3 separate regions of the Homo sapiens genome follow, and all the other regions are linked to region 2. The links are contacts of gene promoters, found by promoter capture Hi-C in blood cells and fetal thymus (Javierre and others, 2016). All regions are on one chromosome and are shown on one strand. Each heading gives the region's core, a stretch centred on a gene start or on the middle of the fragment in contact. The rest is flanking DNA. Distances are from core to core; before and after follow the strand shown.

Region 1 (3,812 bases), core at 642-3,141, 390 kb before region 2:
AAATGAGGAGCGGAAAAGAACAACACCGCCCACTGCAAAAGACGAGCTTCAGCATTCATGAAAACCTAGTTTCTTCTGAAGCCAGCGTATGAGAAAATCTTACTTCCACAAACTGACCTATTTTCATCTTGGTCTTCTAAGTAGAAATCCCTCATAATGTAAAGCAAATAAAGCAGAATTCCTGACTTTCATATATCTCTTAAAGCCTAACCAACAAGGCTGAGTCTTCAGTTCAAGTCAGTTTTCACTGCACAATGCCAATAGCTGAACCCAAACTCTTCAGCTGCTGGTGACCCTGTGAAGGCAAGAACGTGGCGGGTGGGTGGATGCGACTGAGGGGCTGAGTGGCGTGTTTTGGTTAGGCAAAGCAGGCAGGCATCACAAATACGAAAAAAAGCCTGCAGCATGAGCTTAAAGAGTTGTGATCTGTTTGTAAAGCTGGTAAAAACTGCTCCACAGGAGCCAAAGCCAAATCCAATACTGTAAAGGAACATTTACTGGAGAGCAACTTTCCTCCAGGGTACATATTTGCATGAGGTGTAAAATTGCTAAATATCTGAGGAATAAAAGAGCTGGGAATCTTATGGCTTAGCTAAGAGTCACACTAATGCCCCAAGCCAAGGTTAAAGCAACAATGACTTCAGATCTCTACAATGACCTCGAGTATTGCCACTGTGAGAACTTATTTATTTTTGCCTTCTCTAGATTATTTCATCATTTTGAGCAAAAGCAAAAACAGATTTATGTGTCAATTTTGGAAGGGAAATTTACTTCTTTCAGGCCCTTTTTTGATGTTAAAAAAAAAAGTAGAAATGCATCCCAACTTTTTACAATTTGGCAATAATACTTTATCTTGAATGCTTACCTTCTAAATTACTGGTTTCTTCTCAGGACACTGTAGGTCCTGGGCAAAATAACGAGAAATACTGAATAGCTGTAAAAGCGTAAATGTCAATCAAGCTAGCAAAGCACAAAGGGTGAGCACCTAGGAAGAGGGGCCTTTAATTTACAAGGTACTTTCTAAAAAAATAAATGTCATGAAAAGATATTTTATCTATCACACTGAGTTTCCTAATCAGAGAGATAATTTGATCTCAAGAGAAGTAGGAGGAAACTGCTGGCCTCTAGAGTTTCATGAAAAGCAATAAGTAATCAACTCAAAATGAAGAAAAGCAAGTTTTCTATTTTATGTCTTATTTCGGTACCCTTTGCTATATGTAGTTTAATGATTAAAATCTATGTAGGCCAGGTGTGGTGGCTCACACCTGTAATCCTACCTAGCTCTTTGGGAGGCTGAGGTGGGTGGACTGCTTGAGCCCAGGAGTTTGAGACCAACCTGGGCCACATGATGAAACCCTGTCTCTGCAAAAAATACAAAAAAATAGCCAAGTGTGGTCGCAGGTGCCTGTAGTCTTGGCTACTCAGGAGACTAAGGTGGGAGGATCACCTGAGCCCAGGAGGTCGAGGCTGCAGTGAGCCATGATCTCACCACTGCACCCCACATGGGGCAACAGAGTGAGACCCTGTCTCAAAAAAAAAAAAAAAGAGAGACCTATGTAATGAGTCTATAGTTGTAATTACAGTAATTTCTCATTAGTCTATCAGTTGATGACATGCCATGGAAGAGCTGAAGCAAGTGGTAGACTGCAAGTTGCTGTAAAAATAGTATAAAGCCTTCGATGGAAGCAGGCAGAAGGAGAGTGTCATGGCTGGAAAAAGGACCTGAAATCATATTATTATGGAGCACAAACCATTAGAAAGAGATTGTTATTTTTTAAATATTTTGCTTGCAGTTGCAGGACAAAAATATGCAGACTGAGCTACATATGGTTCTTAAAGACATTAGGTAACTATTGCTTTCATTTTATTTTATTTTTGGGATGGAGTCTCGCTCTGTTGCCCAGGCTGGAGGGCAGTGGCAACATCTCAGCTCACTGCAACCTTCGCCTCCCAGGTTCAAGCAATTCTCCTGCTGTTAGCCTAATGAGCAGCTGGGATTACAGGTGCGCACCACCACACCTGGCTAACTTCTGTATTTTTAGTAGAGACGGGGTTTCACCACGTTGCCCAGGCTGGTCTCAAACTCCTGACTTCAGGTGATCCACCCGCCTCAGCCTCCCAAAGTGTTGGGATTACAGGAGTGAGCCACTGTGCCTGACCAGGTAACTATTGCTTTCAAAGTTTCTTCCAAGTATTTTAGTAAGATATGACTTAAAGATCACTGCTGGAATTTCCAGAGAGGGGAAAAAATTTCCACCCCCCAGGTCAGGTCCTGCCCCCTGCACTTACTGCTGCAAAGGAGTAGTGGATCTCACGAATGAACTTGGGAAAAAGACCCAGTCATGCTCAGCACTGCACTTTTCAGCCTTTGGAAGCAGCCCTCATTTTGCTGCCTCCTACTTGGATATTTTGTGGGCCTCCAGCCTGCTTGATGGGGATGAGAAAGAGTAATTCAAGTAAGAAAATATTGGGGAACCCATTGAGCAACAGATCTACACTTTGTTTACTGGTCAGCATTCTCTGTACAGGAGGAAGCCTGGAGGGATAAGAAAAAGAGTAGGTTTTAGGCCTGAGGAATATGAGAGGTCGTGATTTGAACCTGACCTTCCAGGACTTTCTAAAATTACATGTGTCTGGCCAGGCGTGGTGGCTCATGCCTGTAATCCCAGCACTTTGGGAGGCTGAGGCTGGCAGATCACCTGAGGTCAGGAGTTCAAGACCAGCCTGGCCAACATGGCGAAACCCTGTCTCTATTAAAGATACAAAAATTAGCTAGGCGTGGTGGCATGCACCTGTAGTCCCAGCTACTCAGGAGGCTGAGGCAGGAGAATCACTTGAACCCAGGAGGCAGAGGTTGCAGTGAGCTGAGATCACACCACTGCACTCCAGCCTGGGCAACAGAGCGAGACTCCATCTCAAATAAAATAAAATAAAATAAGATAAAATAAAATTACATGTGTCAAGGTGGGGAGTTAGAGCATATTTTATCTACCAAGTTGTAGACCTGATACTGATTTTGTAACATGTAGTCATATGGTACGTGGGCCGCCCGTTGTTCTCTTGCCCTGGACCCTGCACGTTAGGAGCAAGGCTGCTGCTCTGGTCCCTCACCAGTGGGCACTTGGAGATCATTTCCTTGTATCAGACCCCTCTTTAGTCACTGCAGCATATTCTCTGTGTCTGCAGGTGCTCACAGTTCAGATTTTATCTACAGTCTTCATCAACTGTATTCGCTTTCCTCTAATGCCCGTCATAAATGCCCTGTGCTTATCACTTATTGTGGATTTTTATATGTCCAGGGGTTTAGAGCTTAGCACTTCGAGTTTTTTGTTTTTTGTTTTGTTTTTTTTTTTTTGGTTTTGGGGTTTTTTTGTTTTTGTTTTTGTTTTGTTTTGTTTTGTTTTTGGCGTGGGGGTTCTTCCTATATTCTGCTCAGTCTTCTTAGTCAGAAGTGCAATTTCCAAATTGAGGATAAGTCTCCAAAGTCACAGAGACATGTTCTGTGTAGCACTATCAGCTGCCCCTGTAGGCTGAGGCAGGCTGTGCTTTATAGTGAAACCACTTCACACCTATTCCCTGGCCCTCAGCCACCCACAGTGCTGTGGGATGGCAGCGGAGACCCTAGCTACCCATGCCTGGAGATCAGGGAAGGAGGAAGAATTTAAGCTGAGAATTGCAGGAATTTCTCTATATGTTGGGGAGTCCTCAGATTATATCCAAAACACATGAGGCACTAGACAGATTCATTATAAGCACAAGCAGAAAAAAAAGTCACATATGAATTTGCACTAAGGCAGCATTCGGTGGCTCAC
Region 2 (4,356 bases), core at 1,287-3,786:
TACTTTGCAGCAGATTAAATGCAGAAACAGATATGAGAATCCAGCTGTCTTCTCTCAAACCAGACATTAAAGAGATTTTTAAAATGCCACTCTTCTCATTACGTTTTTCATGTTGGAAGATATATTTGTTTTTCTTAAAACATGTTTAACATGGAGTGGGTTTATTATTGTCATTTTGAAGGAATAAATACATATTTTAATTTTTTCTCAGATTTAAGTTTTAACACAGTAAATAAAAATTTCATCCAGAACAGTAATACACAAACATTCCTTGGGTTTGTCAACAATTTTTAAGGGAATAATGGTATCTTGAGAACAAAAGGTTTAAAAACTGCTGTGGAAGCCGCAAGGTAAGGCCCTGAAAAGGAGGAGGAGAACAAACTCTGTTTTGTACAGCAGGCACTCAACAATTGAATATGATAATGATAAGGACATGTAAAACCAGTGTGACTAACACTATGAGGCAGGAAGTGAAAAGTGCTAAATAAGTGGTCTAGATGTGCACTGTCCAACACGGCAGCCACTAGCCATATGTGGCTTGGAATGTGGCTAGTCCTAACTGACATGCCCTGTAAGTGCTAAATATACACCAGACTTCAGAGATTGAGTATGAAATAAGGAATGCAAAGTATCTTATTGATAATTTTTTATATTGATTATATGCCAAAATGTTAAGATTCTTGTATATATTGGGTTATTTACAATATTAAAATTAATTTCACCTGTGCTTTTTTCCTTTTTAATATGGCTATGAGAAAATTTACAATTACATATGTGGCTTACATTTTATTTCTCTTGGAGAGCGCTGGTTTGGACAGGAAGTATGAAGAATTTGGAGCAGGGAAACATTGCTGTGGGTTCAGGTCATCGGGAAGTCTTCACTGAGAACTATAGGATTTCACTAAGTAGGTAGGCTCAGGGAGGAATATCCAGTTGAAGAAAGCCTCGGTAGTGAAATATGAGGTTAATCTGGGCAGCTGAGGTGACTGCTTGGGTCACATCATGGGCTCTTATAGGGGAGAAAAGTTTCCTGGATAGGTTGGGACCAAACTGTACAGAACTTAAACTGCCAAGAATTTGGATTTTTTTCCTATAGGCAGTGACAGCTTCTCCAGAAGAAAATCAGACTTTGCTTAGTAGCTTATGGAATAGCCTGAAATTGGCACTTTCTTATGTAGGGTCAGAGCAGCATAAGCTCCTGGAAACTGCCTGCTCAACAAGCAGTGGGGACCAGGCCTACCTAACCAGGAAATTTACAGTGATATGGAAAGTGTGACTTTGGATTGATTGACCTATTTGGGGGTGGGTGGTAAGTTTAAGCACATGATAATGTCACCTGGGAGAGAAGAATCCAGAGGGTGTACCTGTGTGAAACCCGTCAGGGAAGAGGGAGGCAGGCCTTTCACCTTGGTATATTGCTCTAAGCATGTGTATAACCAAATTGAGTGACACTTTCTACCTTTCTTTCAGTCTGTCTGTCTGTCTTTATTTTTGTCTTTGTTTTACTATTTTTACTTTCTTAAACATTTTTATTGATTTTTTAATATACGGTGGGATTTTACTGTGTTGCCTGGGCTGGTCTCAAACTCCTGGGCTCAAGGAGTCCTTCCACTTCAGCCTCCCAAAGTGCTAGGATTACAGGTGTGAGCCACACGCCTGGACTTCTCTTTATTTTATTGAACCCCTACTGTGAATCAAGGGGTTAAGAGCTAACTACAAGGAGATGAAATGAAAAGACCACTGAAGTGGGAAGGGAAACACCTGGGCTATTATCGGGCTCCGTGGCTAACTTATTGAGTCCTCTTGGTCACCTCACTGGGTCTCTTCAGATATGAAAGAGGATTTAGCATTAGATGGGACCAAGACTTCCTCCAACTCTGTGATTCTAGAACAGGCTGATGTCACAAAGGGAGAAGAACGCACCGTAGCAACCAGGGGCAAGGCTACTCAAGGAGAGTAGGAGGAGGCTAGGTCAGGAAGGGCAAGCACTGGTGGCCTACCCAGGACTTGGCCCAACCCTCTGGGTCAGGTCACCCTCGTCGGAGTGAGCGGACCCCGCTGGAATTGGAGCCCAGTAAGGTCTATGAGTTTGGTGTTTTGATCCTGGCTACCCATCCCTTCCATCCCAGGGGTGGTTCACCAGGCTGAGTGGAGCCTTATACTAGGGAGAGAGGAAGCTGAAGAACTGGGCTCCAGGTAAGTAACTCTGCAGAGGATCTCAGATTGTCTAAGGAAACCACTGAAGAAAATGTATGCCCCGCCCCTCCCCTTTTTCCTGGCACTGCTGAGCCACCTGCAGTTGCGAGAGCCGCTGGGAGGGATAAGAGGGAAGAGGACGCCCGGTGAAGGGGCTCCAGCCTGGCAGTTTCTGCGTGTTAGCATTTCTAGAATAGAGTGGGTGGGAACTGACCCAAGTAAAGTCCCAGAGACTCGAACACTGACGCACAGGAAAGCCTCAAGTGGGAGGAGAAATGCAAATCCCCTACTGATGATGGCGTCAGCGGCTTTCTCCTAGGGACTGTGAGGGGCGCTTCTGACTTTGGACTTGAGCACTGCCTGGGACCTGTGCTGAGAGAGCGCTAGGTAAGTGGCCAGACCACACCTTCTGGCTGCCTCTTGTAAGGAGGACATGCTTATTATGCAGGATACTCTGAAGCTTTGCTTTCCCTTGGCGTTTTGACAATTGCTTCATTTTAACCTTCCTGAGGAGGCTTATTATAGAAGGAAGCGCCCGACTCCACGACCCACAGATGCGCCCTGGCACGGGTTCTCCGCGGAAACCGCTCCGCAGGCCCGCGCCACGGTGCCCGGGCGAATCTCCCTGCGGGGGCCAGGGGAGCTGCGGCGGCTGCGGAGGTGTGTCCTCGCGGAGGCTGAAAGTGAGCCCCTCTTCACTTTCTTAGCCAGCTTCTCTAGAGCTGTGATGTCTGACTTTAGATTAGCGTACCTGGATTTCAGAAAAAAGCTTGCAGCTACGGCAGCCGGTGACTGTGGCTTTGATGGGCGCGAGTGACATTTTAGGGCAGGTCATCTCCTTTTGCAAGCTACAGGCCACAGAGCCAAAGCGGCACCACCAGCTCACAGACGGTGGGACAAAATGCCCCTTTAGTGGGATCTTCTAGGAAATGCACGCAAAAAGGACAGACAGGCACTGAGTTTTCAGAAGCAACGTCACAGTTTTCATGAGAAAGAAGTAGCCCCTAGAGAGTGAAAGCAAAGAAACCTGCTGAAGGATGTCTAAAGGCGTTCCCAGAGGCTGCAATAGAAAATGTCCTAGGACTATGTATTCCTTCTTCTTCCTTTTTTCAGCTTTGAATTCAGCTCTCCGAAAGACTCAGATCTTAGTAGTGATTTTTTTCGGTGTTTATTTTTATTTTTTTTAATTTTCCTTTTATTTTCATTTGACACACAATTGTAAATATTTATGGAATATACAGTGATATTTCAATAAATATGAACAATGTGTTATGATCAAAGGATATTCAGCATATCCATCACCTCAAACATTTATCATTACTTTGTGTTGTGAACATTCAAAATCCTCTTAGCTTTTTGAAAATATACACTAAGTTATTGTTAACCATATTCATCCTAGTGTTACAGCACTAGAACTTATTCCTCCCATCTACCTGTAAGTTTTAGTTAGAAAATAGATTTTTCATCCAAATCATAGCGGGGGTTTAACAATAGTATGATGAAAAACTGTAATGCTATTTTCAACTCATGTTCTCTGTTGTCATTAACTAAAATAAATTGATAGATAGGACAATGTTGATAGTAGCATGAGAACAAATGTTCCAATTTTGTGTGGAATATATACACATCCGATGGAATATATATACATCCGATATCTGGAAAAACAAATGGTTCAGACTCAGGAAACCTCAGGTTGTCCCTTAGAAGCCTCACACATTAGGCAGGCGTCATTTCGCCTATTTGATCTTCAAGTTTTTCCTTTTTAAAGTTGACATACTACTTATATCCACCTACCATATTCATAGCAATGTCAGGAGTGCCACTCATTCTTCATTTAACAAGCATTGATTGAGCATTTACAATATGCCTAGAATTGTAAAGTGTAAAGGTTTTCATAAATATAAAATGATATGCAAATAAAACATTACTTCTTTTCCCACTTGCTTTCTCTTTAGCAAAACATTGGCAACACGTTTTTTTATAAATTTTAAGTCATTTACCAGGAGCTCAGGGAAAAGGTGCTCAAAATGATTCTACTTAAAACCCAAAGAATATGTATATGAAATATATGAAATTACCCTGGTGTTCTATAGGCAAAAGGAAACCTTAGCCTATCTATGAGATATGTTGAAATGTTATGGTGATTAATCATGTAAAAGG
Region 3 (4,288 bases), core at 9-2,508, 350 kb before region 2:
CCCTCCCTCTGTCTCTGTACAGGGGAGCTTTTTCCTTCTCCCTTCCTTCTTACTCCTTCTTGCCTATTAAATTCTCCGCTCCTTAAAACCACTCCACGTGTGTTTGTGTCTTATCTAATTTGATGTGAGACAAGAGCCCTGGTGTTCCTCCACTCATCAGAGCCACATCAATAATTTAGGTGAAGTGCTTGGCCTAATGCTTTGCGAAAAGCAAATGCTAATAAATATCAGCTTGTTACTGGTGGAAGTTATCTGAGTTACAGGTGGCAAATCCCTATGGGTCTGTAGCAACCTCAATTCTTGCCTCCTCAAAAGAAAGAATTCAACTGAGGGGCATAAGGCAGAAAAAGAGACTGAAGCAAGTTTCAGAGCAGGAGCGGAAGTTTACTGAAAAGCTTTAGAGAAGAAAGGAAAGTACACTTGGAAGAGACTCAAGTGGCAACTTGGAGGTCAACTGACCCATTTGATCTTGAACCTAGCATTTCATATGCATTTCACTTCCGGTGTTGTGATCCCTTTTTCCCTTGATTCTTCCCTTAAGGTGAGCCACCCACATGCGAGGTAGCCTACTGGTGCCTAGGAGGTGAGCGCGTGGTGTGTTTACTGGAGTTGTATGCATGCTCACCTGAGGCTTTCCTCCCTTTTCCAGTGGAATGCCGGGAAGGTCATACTCCACCATTTTGCCTCTTAACGTGCATGCTCGAGACCACGTGCCCAATTTCTGAAAGCTGCCCATTACCAGTTTCAGGGGTTTTTATGTACTGGGAAACTGCCTCTCCCTGGCGCTGGCTGCAACCAATTATTATATTAGAGAGGTACTGTGACAACTGCCTGACCATCATCCAATGGTCACCTGACATTCCTGGTGAGTGGGAGATGCCCTCTCCTGCCCTGCTGATGCCCGACTAGCTACCTTTTGTAACAAGCTGTTGTTGTCTTGTGTCATTGTTGCTAACAATTCTGCAAAGAACTTTGGAGTTTGGCTAAAGAAAAATAAATTTAGTTTTGTCATGGTCCTTCTTTTACCTTCCTTATGTAAACCAAAAATAAAATTCTAAGTCCCCCCAACCATCTGAATGGACTTCCTTCTTGGCCACGGTGCTCTTAAAATTTAACCTGAGAGACTGGTTTAGGCCAGGACAGGAAGTGAGGGTTGGACAGCATTCATTATAGCTCACTGGCATCGACATCAATGTAGACCTTAAGTCTGATAAGAAGCATTTACAGGCCAGGCACGGTGGCTCACACCTGTCATCCCAGCACTTTGGGAGGCTGAGGCAGGCAGATCATGAGGTCAGGCACTCGAGACCAACCTGGCCAACATAGTGAAACCTCGTCTCTACTAAAAATACAAAAAAAAATTAGCCGGGCATGGTGGCTTTCTCCTGTAGTCCCAGCTACTCGGGAGGCTGAGGCAGGACCTGGGAGGCAGAGGTTGCGTTGAGCCCAGATCGGGCCACTGCACTCCAACCTGGGCAGCAGAGTGAGACTCCGAGACTCCATCTCAAAAAAAAAACCAAAAAAACAAAAAAAGCACTTACAATTCATTCTCTCTGAAGCCGGCTACCTGGAGGCTTCATCTGCATGATAAAACTTTGATCTCCACAACCTCTTATTACAACCCAGACATTTCCTTTCTGTTGATCCCAGGTCTAGATAAGCTCAACCAATTGTCAACCAGAAAATTTTAAAATCTACCTATAAACTGGACCGCCCCCCCAACCCTCACCACCTTTGAGTTGTTCCGCCTTTCTGGACCAAACCAGTGTATTTCTTAAATGTGTTTGATTGAAGTCTCTTGCCTCCCAAAAAATGTATGGAACCCAAGCTGCACCCCGACCACCTTGGGCACATGTTCTCAGGACCTCCTGAGGGCTGTGTCATGGGCCATGGCCACTCATATTTGACTCAGAATAAATGTCTTCAAATATTTTACAGAATTTGACTCTTTTTGTTGACACTTAACCATAAAATGGAGACGATATTCTGTCTAACGTTGAAGAATTAAGTAAAACTAAATCTTTAAGCACTAGATTTTACAGGCAGAATTTTGTTACTATAAAGTGTTAGATTAAAAGTTTATTTCTAAATGCTTGTTCATTTCAGAAAATTAAAGCTTTTTCTTTGATAATTACAATACTGCTGTCTTTTCTTGCACAAAGAAAGACAATGGAGAAACAAGGTAACAGGAAGTCCCCATAAGTTTTCCTCTTATTTTACTAAACACTGTACAACCAAGAGGCAAAATTAATTCCACAAGAGGGAGACAGGTCCATGCTGAATTTCCTCAGGGAAAGAAAAAAAAAAAAGAAACTATGATTCTGTTCAAGGACTTCTTGAAATTTCCAAAGACATTTTAGGTTTTGCCATATTTTTAAAGGGGTCAGTTTGTGTGCTCTTTCCTTTTTCTCTCACCTTTCAATGAGCTATTAGAGAAACCGGTCCTGTCTAAAGGGAGCCAGAAATTGAAACTTGGCTCCCAGGCAGACCTTTCAACAAAGGCCACAGCCATCTCCCAACTGGCCTTTGCTCCTCCAACTTGACATATGACACGGGTCCCACCAACCATCTCTTTCTGTGGAAACCAGCTTCCATTTCTCCCCTTCGTTTTCTGGTCTCTCCCATGGCCAGCCCCCTCTCCTTCACCCTGGGGCAGGAGGGAAGGCAGGGAGGGAAGAGCTGAAGCTGCGGCTGCTCTGGTGTGTTTCTACAAGATGCCTGGCAGCCTATGGGCCTCCCAGCTGGCACGGGGGTGAGGAGACCCGGAGCTTGGTGTGGGGAGGACAAGAGACCTACACACAATGGGATCCCAGGAGATGAGCAATAACCCCACTTCTGGCTCAGCCAGCCGTGTTTGGCCTGTTTCCGCAACAGCTATAATTTGCTTTGTTTCTGTGCCAGAGTGGGCTTCCCCAGCATGGGAAAGGATTCCTTTTTGGTTCATCCCCACAGTTTCCAGAAGCCTCCCTACTTCAAGCTGCTGCAGTGTATGCGTCTCTACTGAAGGATAATAAAGTTGTCTTTGGAAGGAGCATTCCTGACTCAGCCACTTCCTACCTGTGGGGCTTTGGCCTCAGGTTCACCTTTCGTTGTGTGGGGATGATAACAGTCTGCAGAGTATCAGGATTAAAAGAGACTAGACAAGTCTGTGATTTTCAAATTGTGCCCTGAGGAGCCCTAAGGGTCTGGAGGACATATCTAAAAAAAACTGCTCTGGCAATGCAGGGGGAGCTCCAGCAGTTCGATATCACCTGCTTCACTCACACACACACACACACACAGTTACTTTACTCACAATAGCTGGTTGGCCTTGCCTAGAAGAGCTTGACCCTCTCCAGATTACAATCCTCCTCTTCCTCCCTGTGCTTTAGAGCTGGGGTTTCTAATCACTAGCCTTATGCAGCTATTTTCAAATGGGGCTTCCCTGGAGCTGCACTGGGGTTTGGATACCCAGCCTCATATCTACTCTGCCCCCGCCCCTTAACCCCACAGGGCAGCTCTGCTTTTCTCTGTCTTATATAATACACTGTGGTTCTGAGTAGCGTTGGTAGCGAGGCAGCAGTCTAATGCTCTCAGTCTGAGAAGCCCCTGATGGAGGGCATCTGGAAGCACTTAGGGGAGCAGTAGTGATGAGGCATGATGCCAAAAGGCATGGGGAATGTGAGCAAGAATTGAGTGGGACTGGGGCTGCCTCAATGCAATTGGCTTGCCAGCACAAGGGCTCCAAATACTTCTTAGTCCCAATACTTACTACTTGCCAATTGCCTGAGACTGCTTTCTTTCTTGGTTTCTGCCAGTTTCAACAAGAACGAAGAAGGAAGCTGTTCGGCTTAAGCCAGAACATCGCATGTTGTGGGAGCAGCGGCTCAAGGAGGAGCAGATGCAGAAGCCCAGGTAGCAGAGTGCAGCTGCCACCCACAGCCAGCCCTGCCTCTGACAGGGGATACAGCCTGCTGGCGTGAATGGTCCATGCCACCATGCCATGTGAGGGACAAGGAGACTCCTCCTCAACTGTGAAAAACTCAACACACCACATTCACATATGCGACACACATTTTATTTTTGCCTCTATAATTTTCCTGTCATTTTACTTTATTTTTATTTGAATTGTTTAATTTTGTCACACAAAATGTGAAATTATGTCACCCAAAAGGAAGAAGCAGTGTCTGTCAACAGATAAATGGATAAACAAAATCTGTTTGTACATATACATTCAATGTTATATTATTCAGCCTTAAGAAGGAAGGAAATTCTAACACATGATACAACGTGGATGAACTTTGAGGAT

What was found. Contacts are between HindIII fragments. The CHiCAGO score rates a contact against its expected background, and 5 or more counts as called.
Region 1: a contact is called between a fragment that was not itself captured here and the fragment with the promoter of STAT4 in region 2, in 1 of 17 cell types (M2 macrophages). The highest score is 5.3, in M2 macrophages.
Region 3: a fragment that was not itself captured here is called in contact with the fragment with the promoter of STAT4 in region 2 in 3 of 17 cell types (M2 macrophages, M1 macrophages and M0 macrophages); the score reaches 8.5 in M2 macrophages.

What each region holds. Positions count from the first base shown.
Region 1 is chr2:191,540,651-191,544,462 of GRCh38, reverse strand. All of the region lies in intron 2 of LOC107985833 (a long non-coding RNA gene), which reads right to left. Among named protein-coding and RNA genes, the nearest start is that of NABP1, 140 kb to the left of the region's middle. RefSeq lists a silencer at 2,741-2,903. The HindIII fragment of the contact is 9,670 bases long and covers 1-3,812 here.
Region 2 is chr2:191,149,174-191,153,529 of GRCh38, reverse strand. STAT4 (signal transducer and activator of transcription 4) reads left to right here and starts at 2,536. Exons shown (of 24, transcript NM_003151.4): 1 at 2,536-2,583. RefSeq lists enhancers at 2,117-2,196, 2,327-2,376 and a silencer at 2,847-2,896. The HindIII fragment of the contact is 5,548 bases long and covers 1-2,658 here.
Region 3 is chr2:191,499,724-191,504,011 of GRCh38, reverse strand. No RefSeq gene overlaps it. Among named protein-coding and RNA genes, the nearest start is that of NABP1, 180 kb to the left of the region's middle. The HindIII fragment of the contact is 1,721 bases long and covers 398-2,118 here.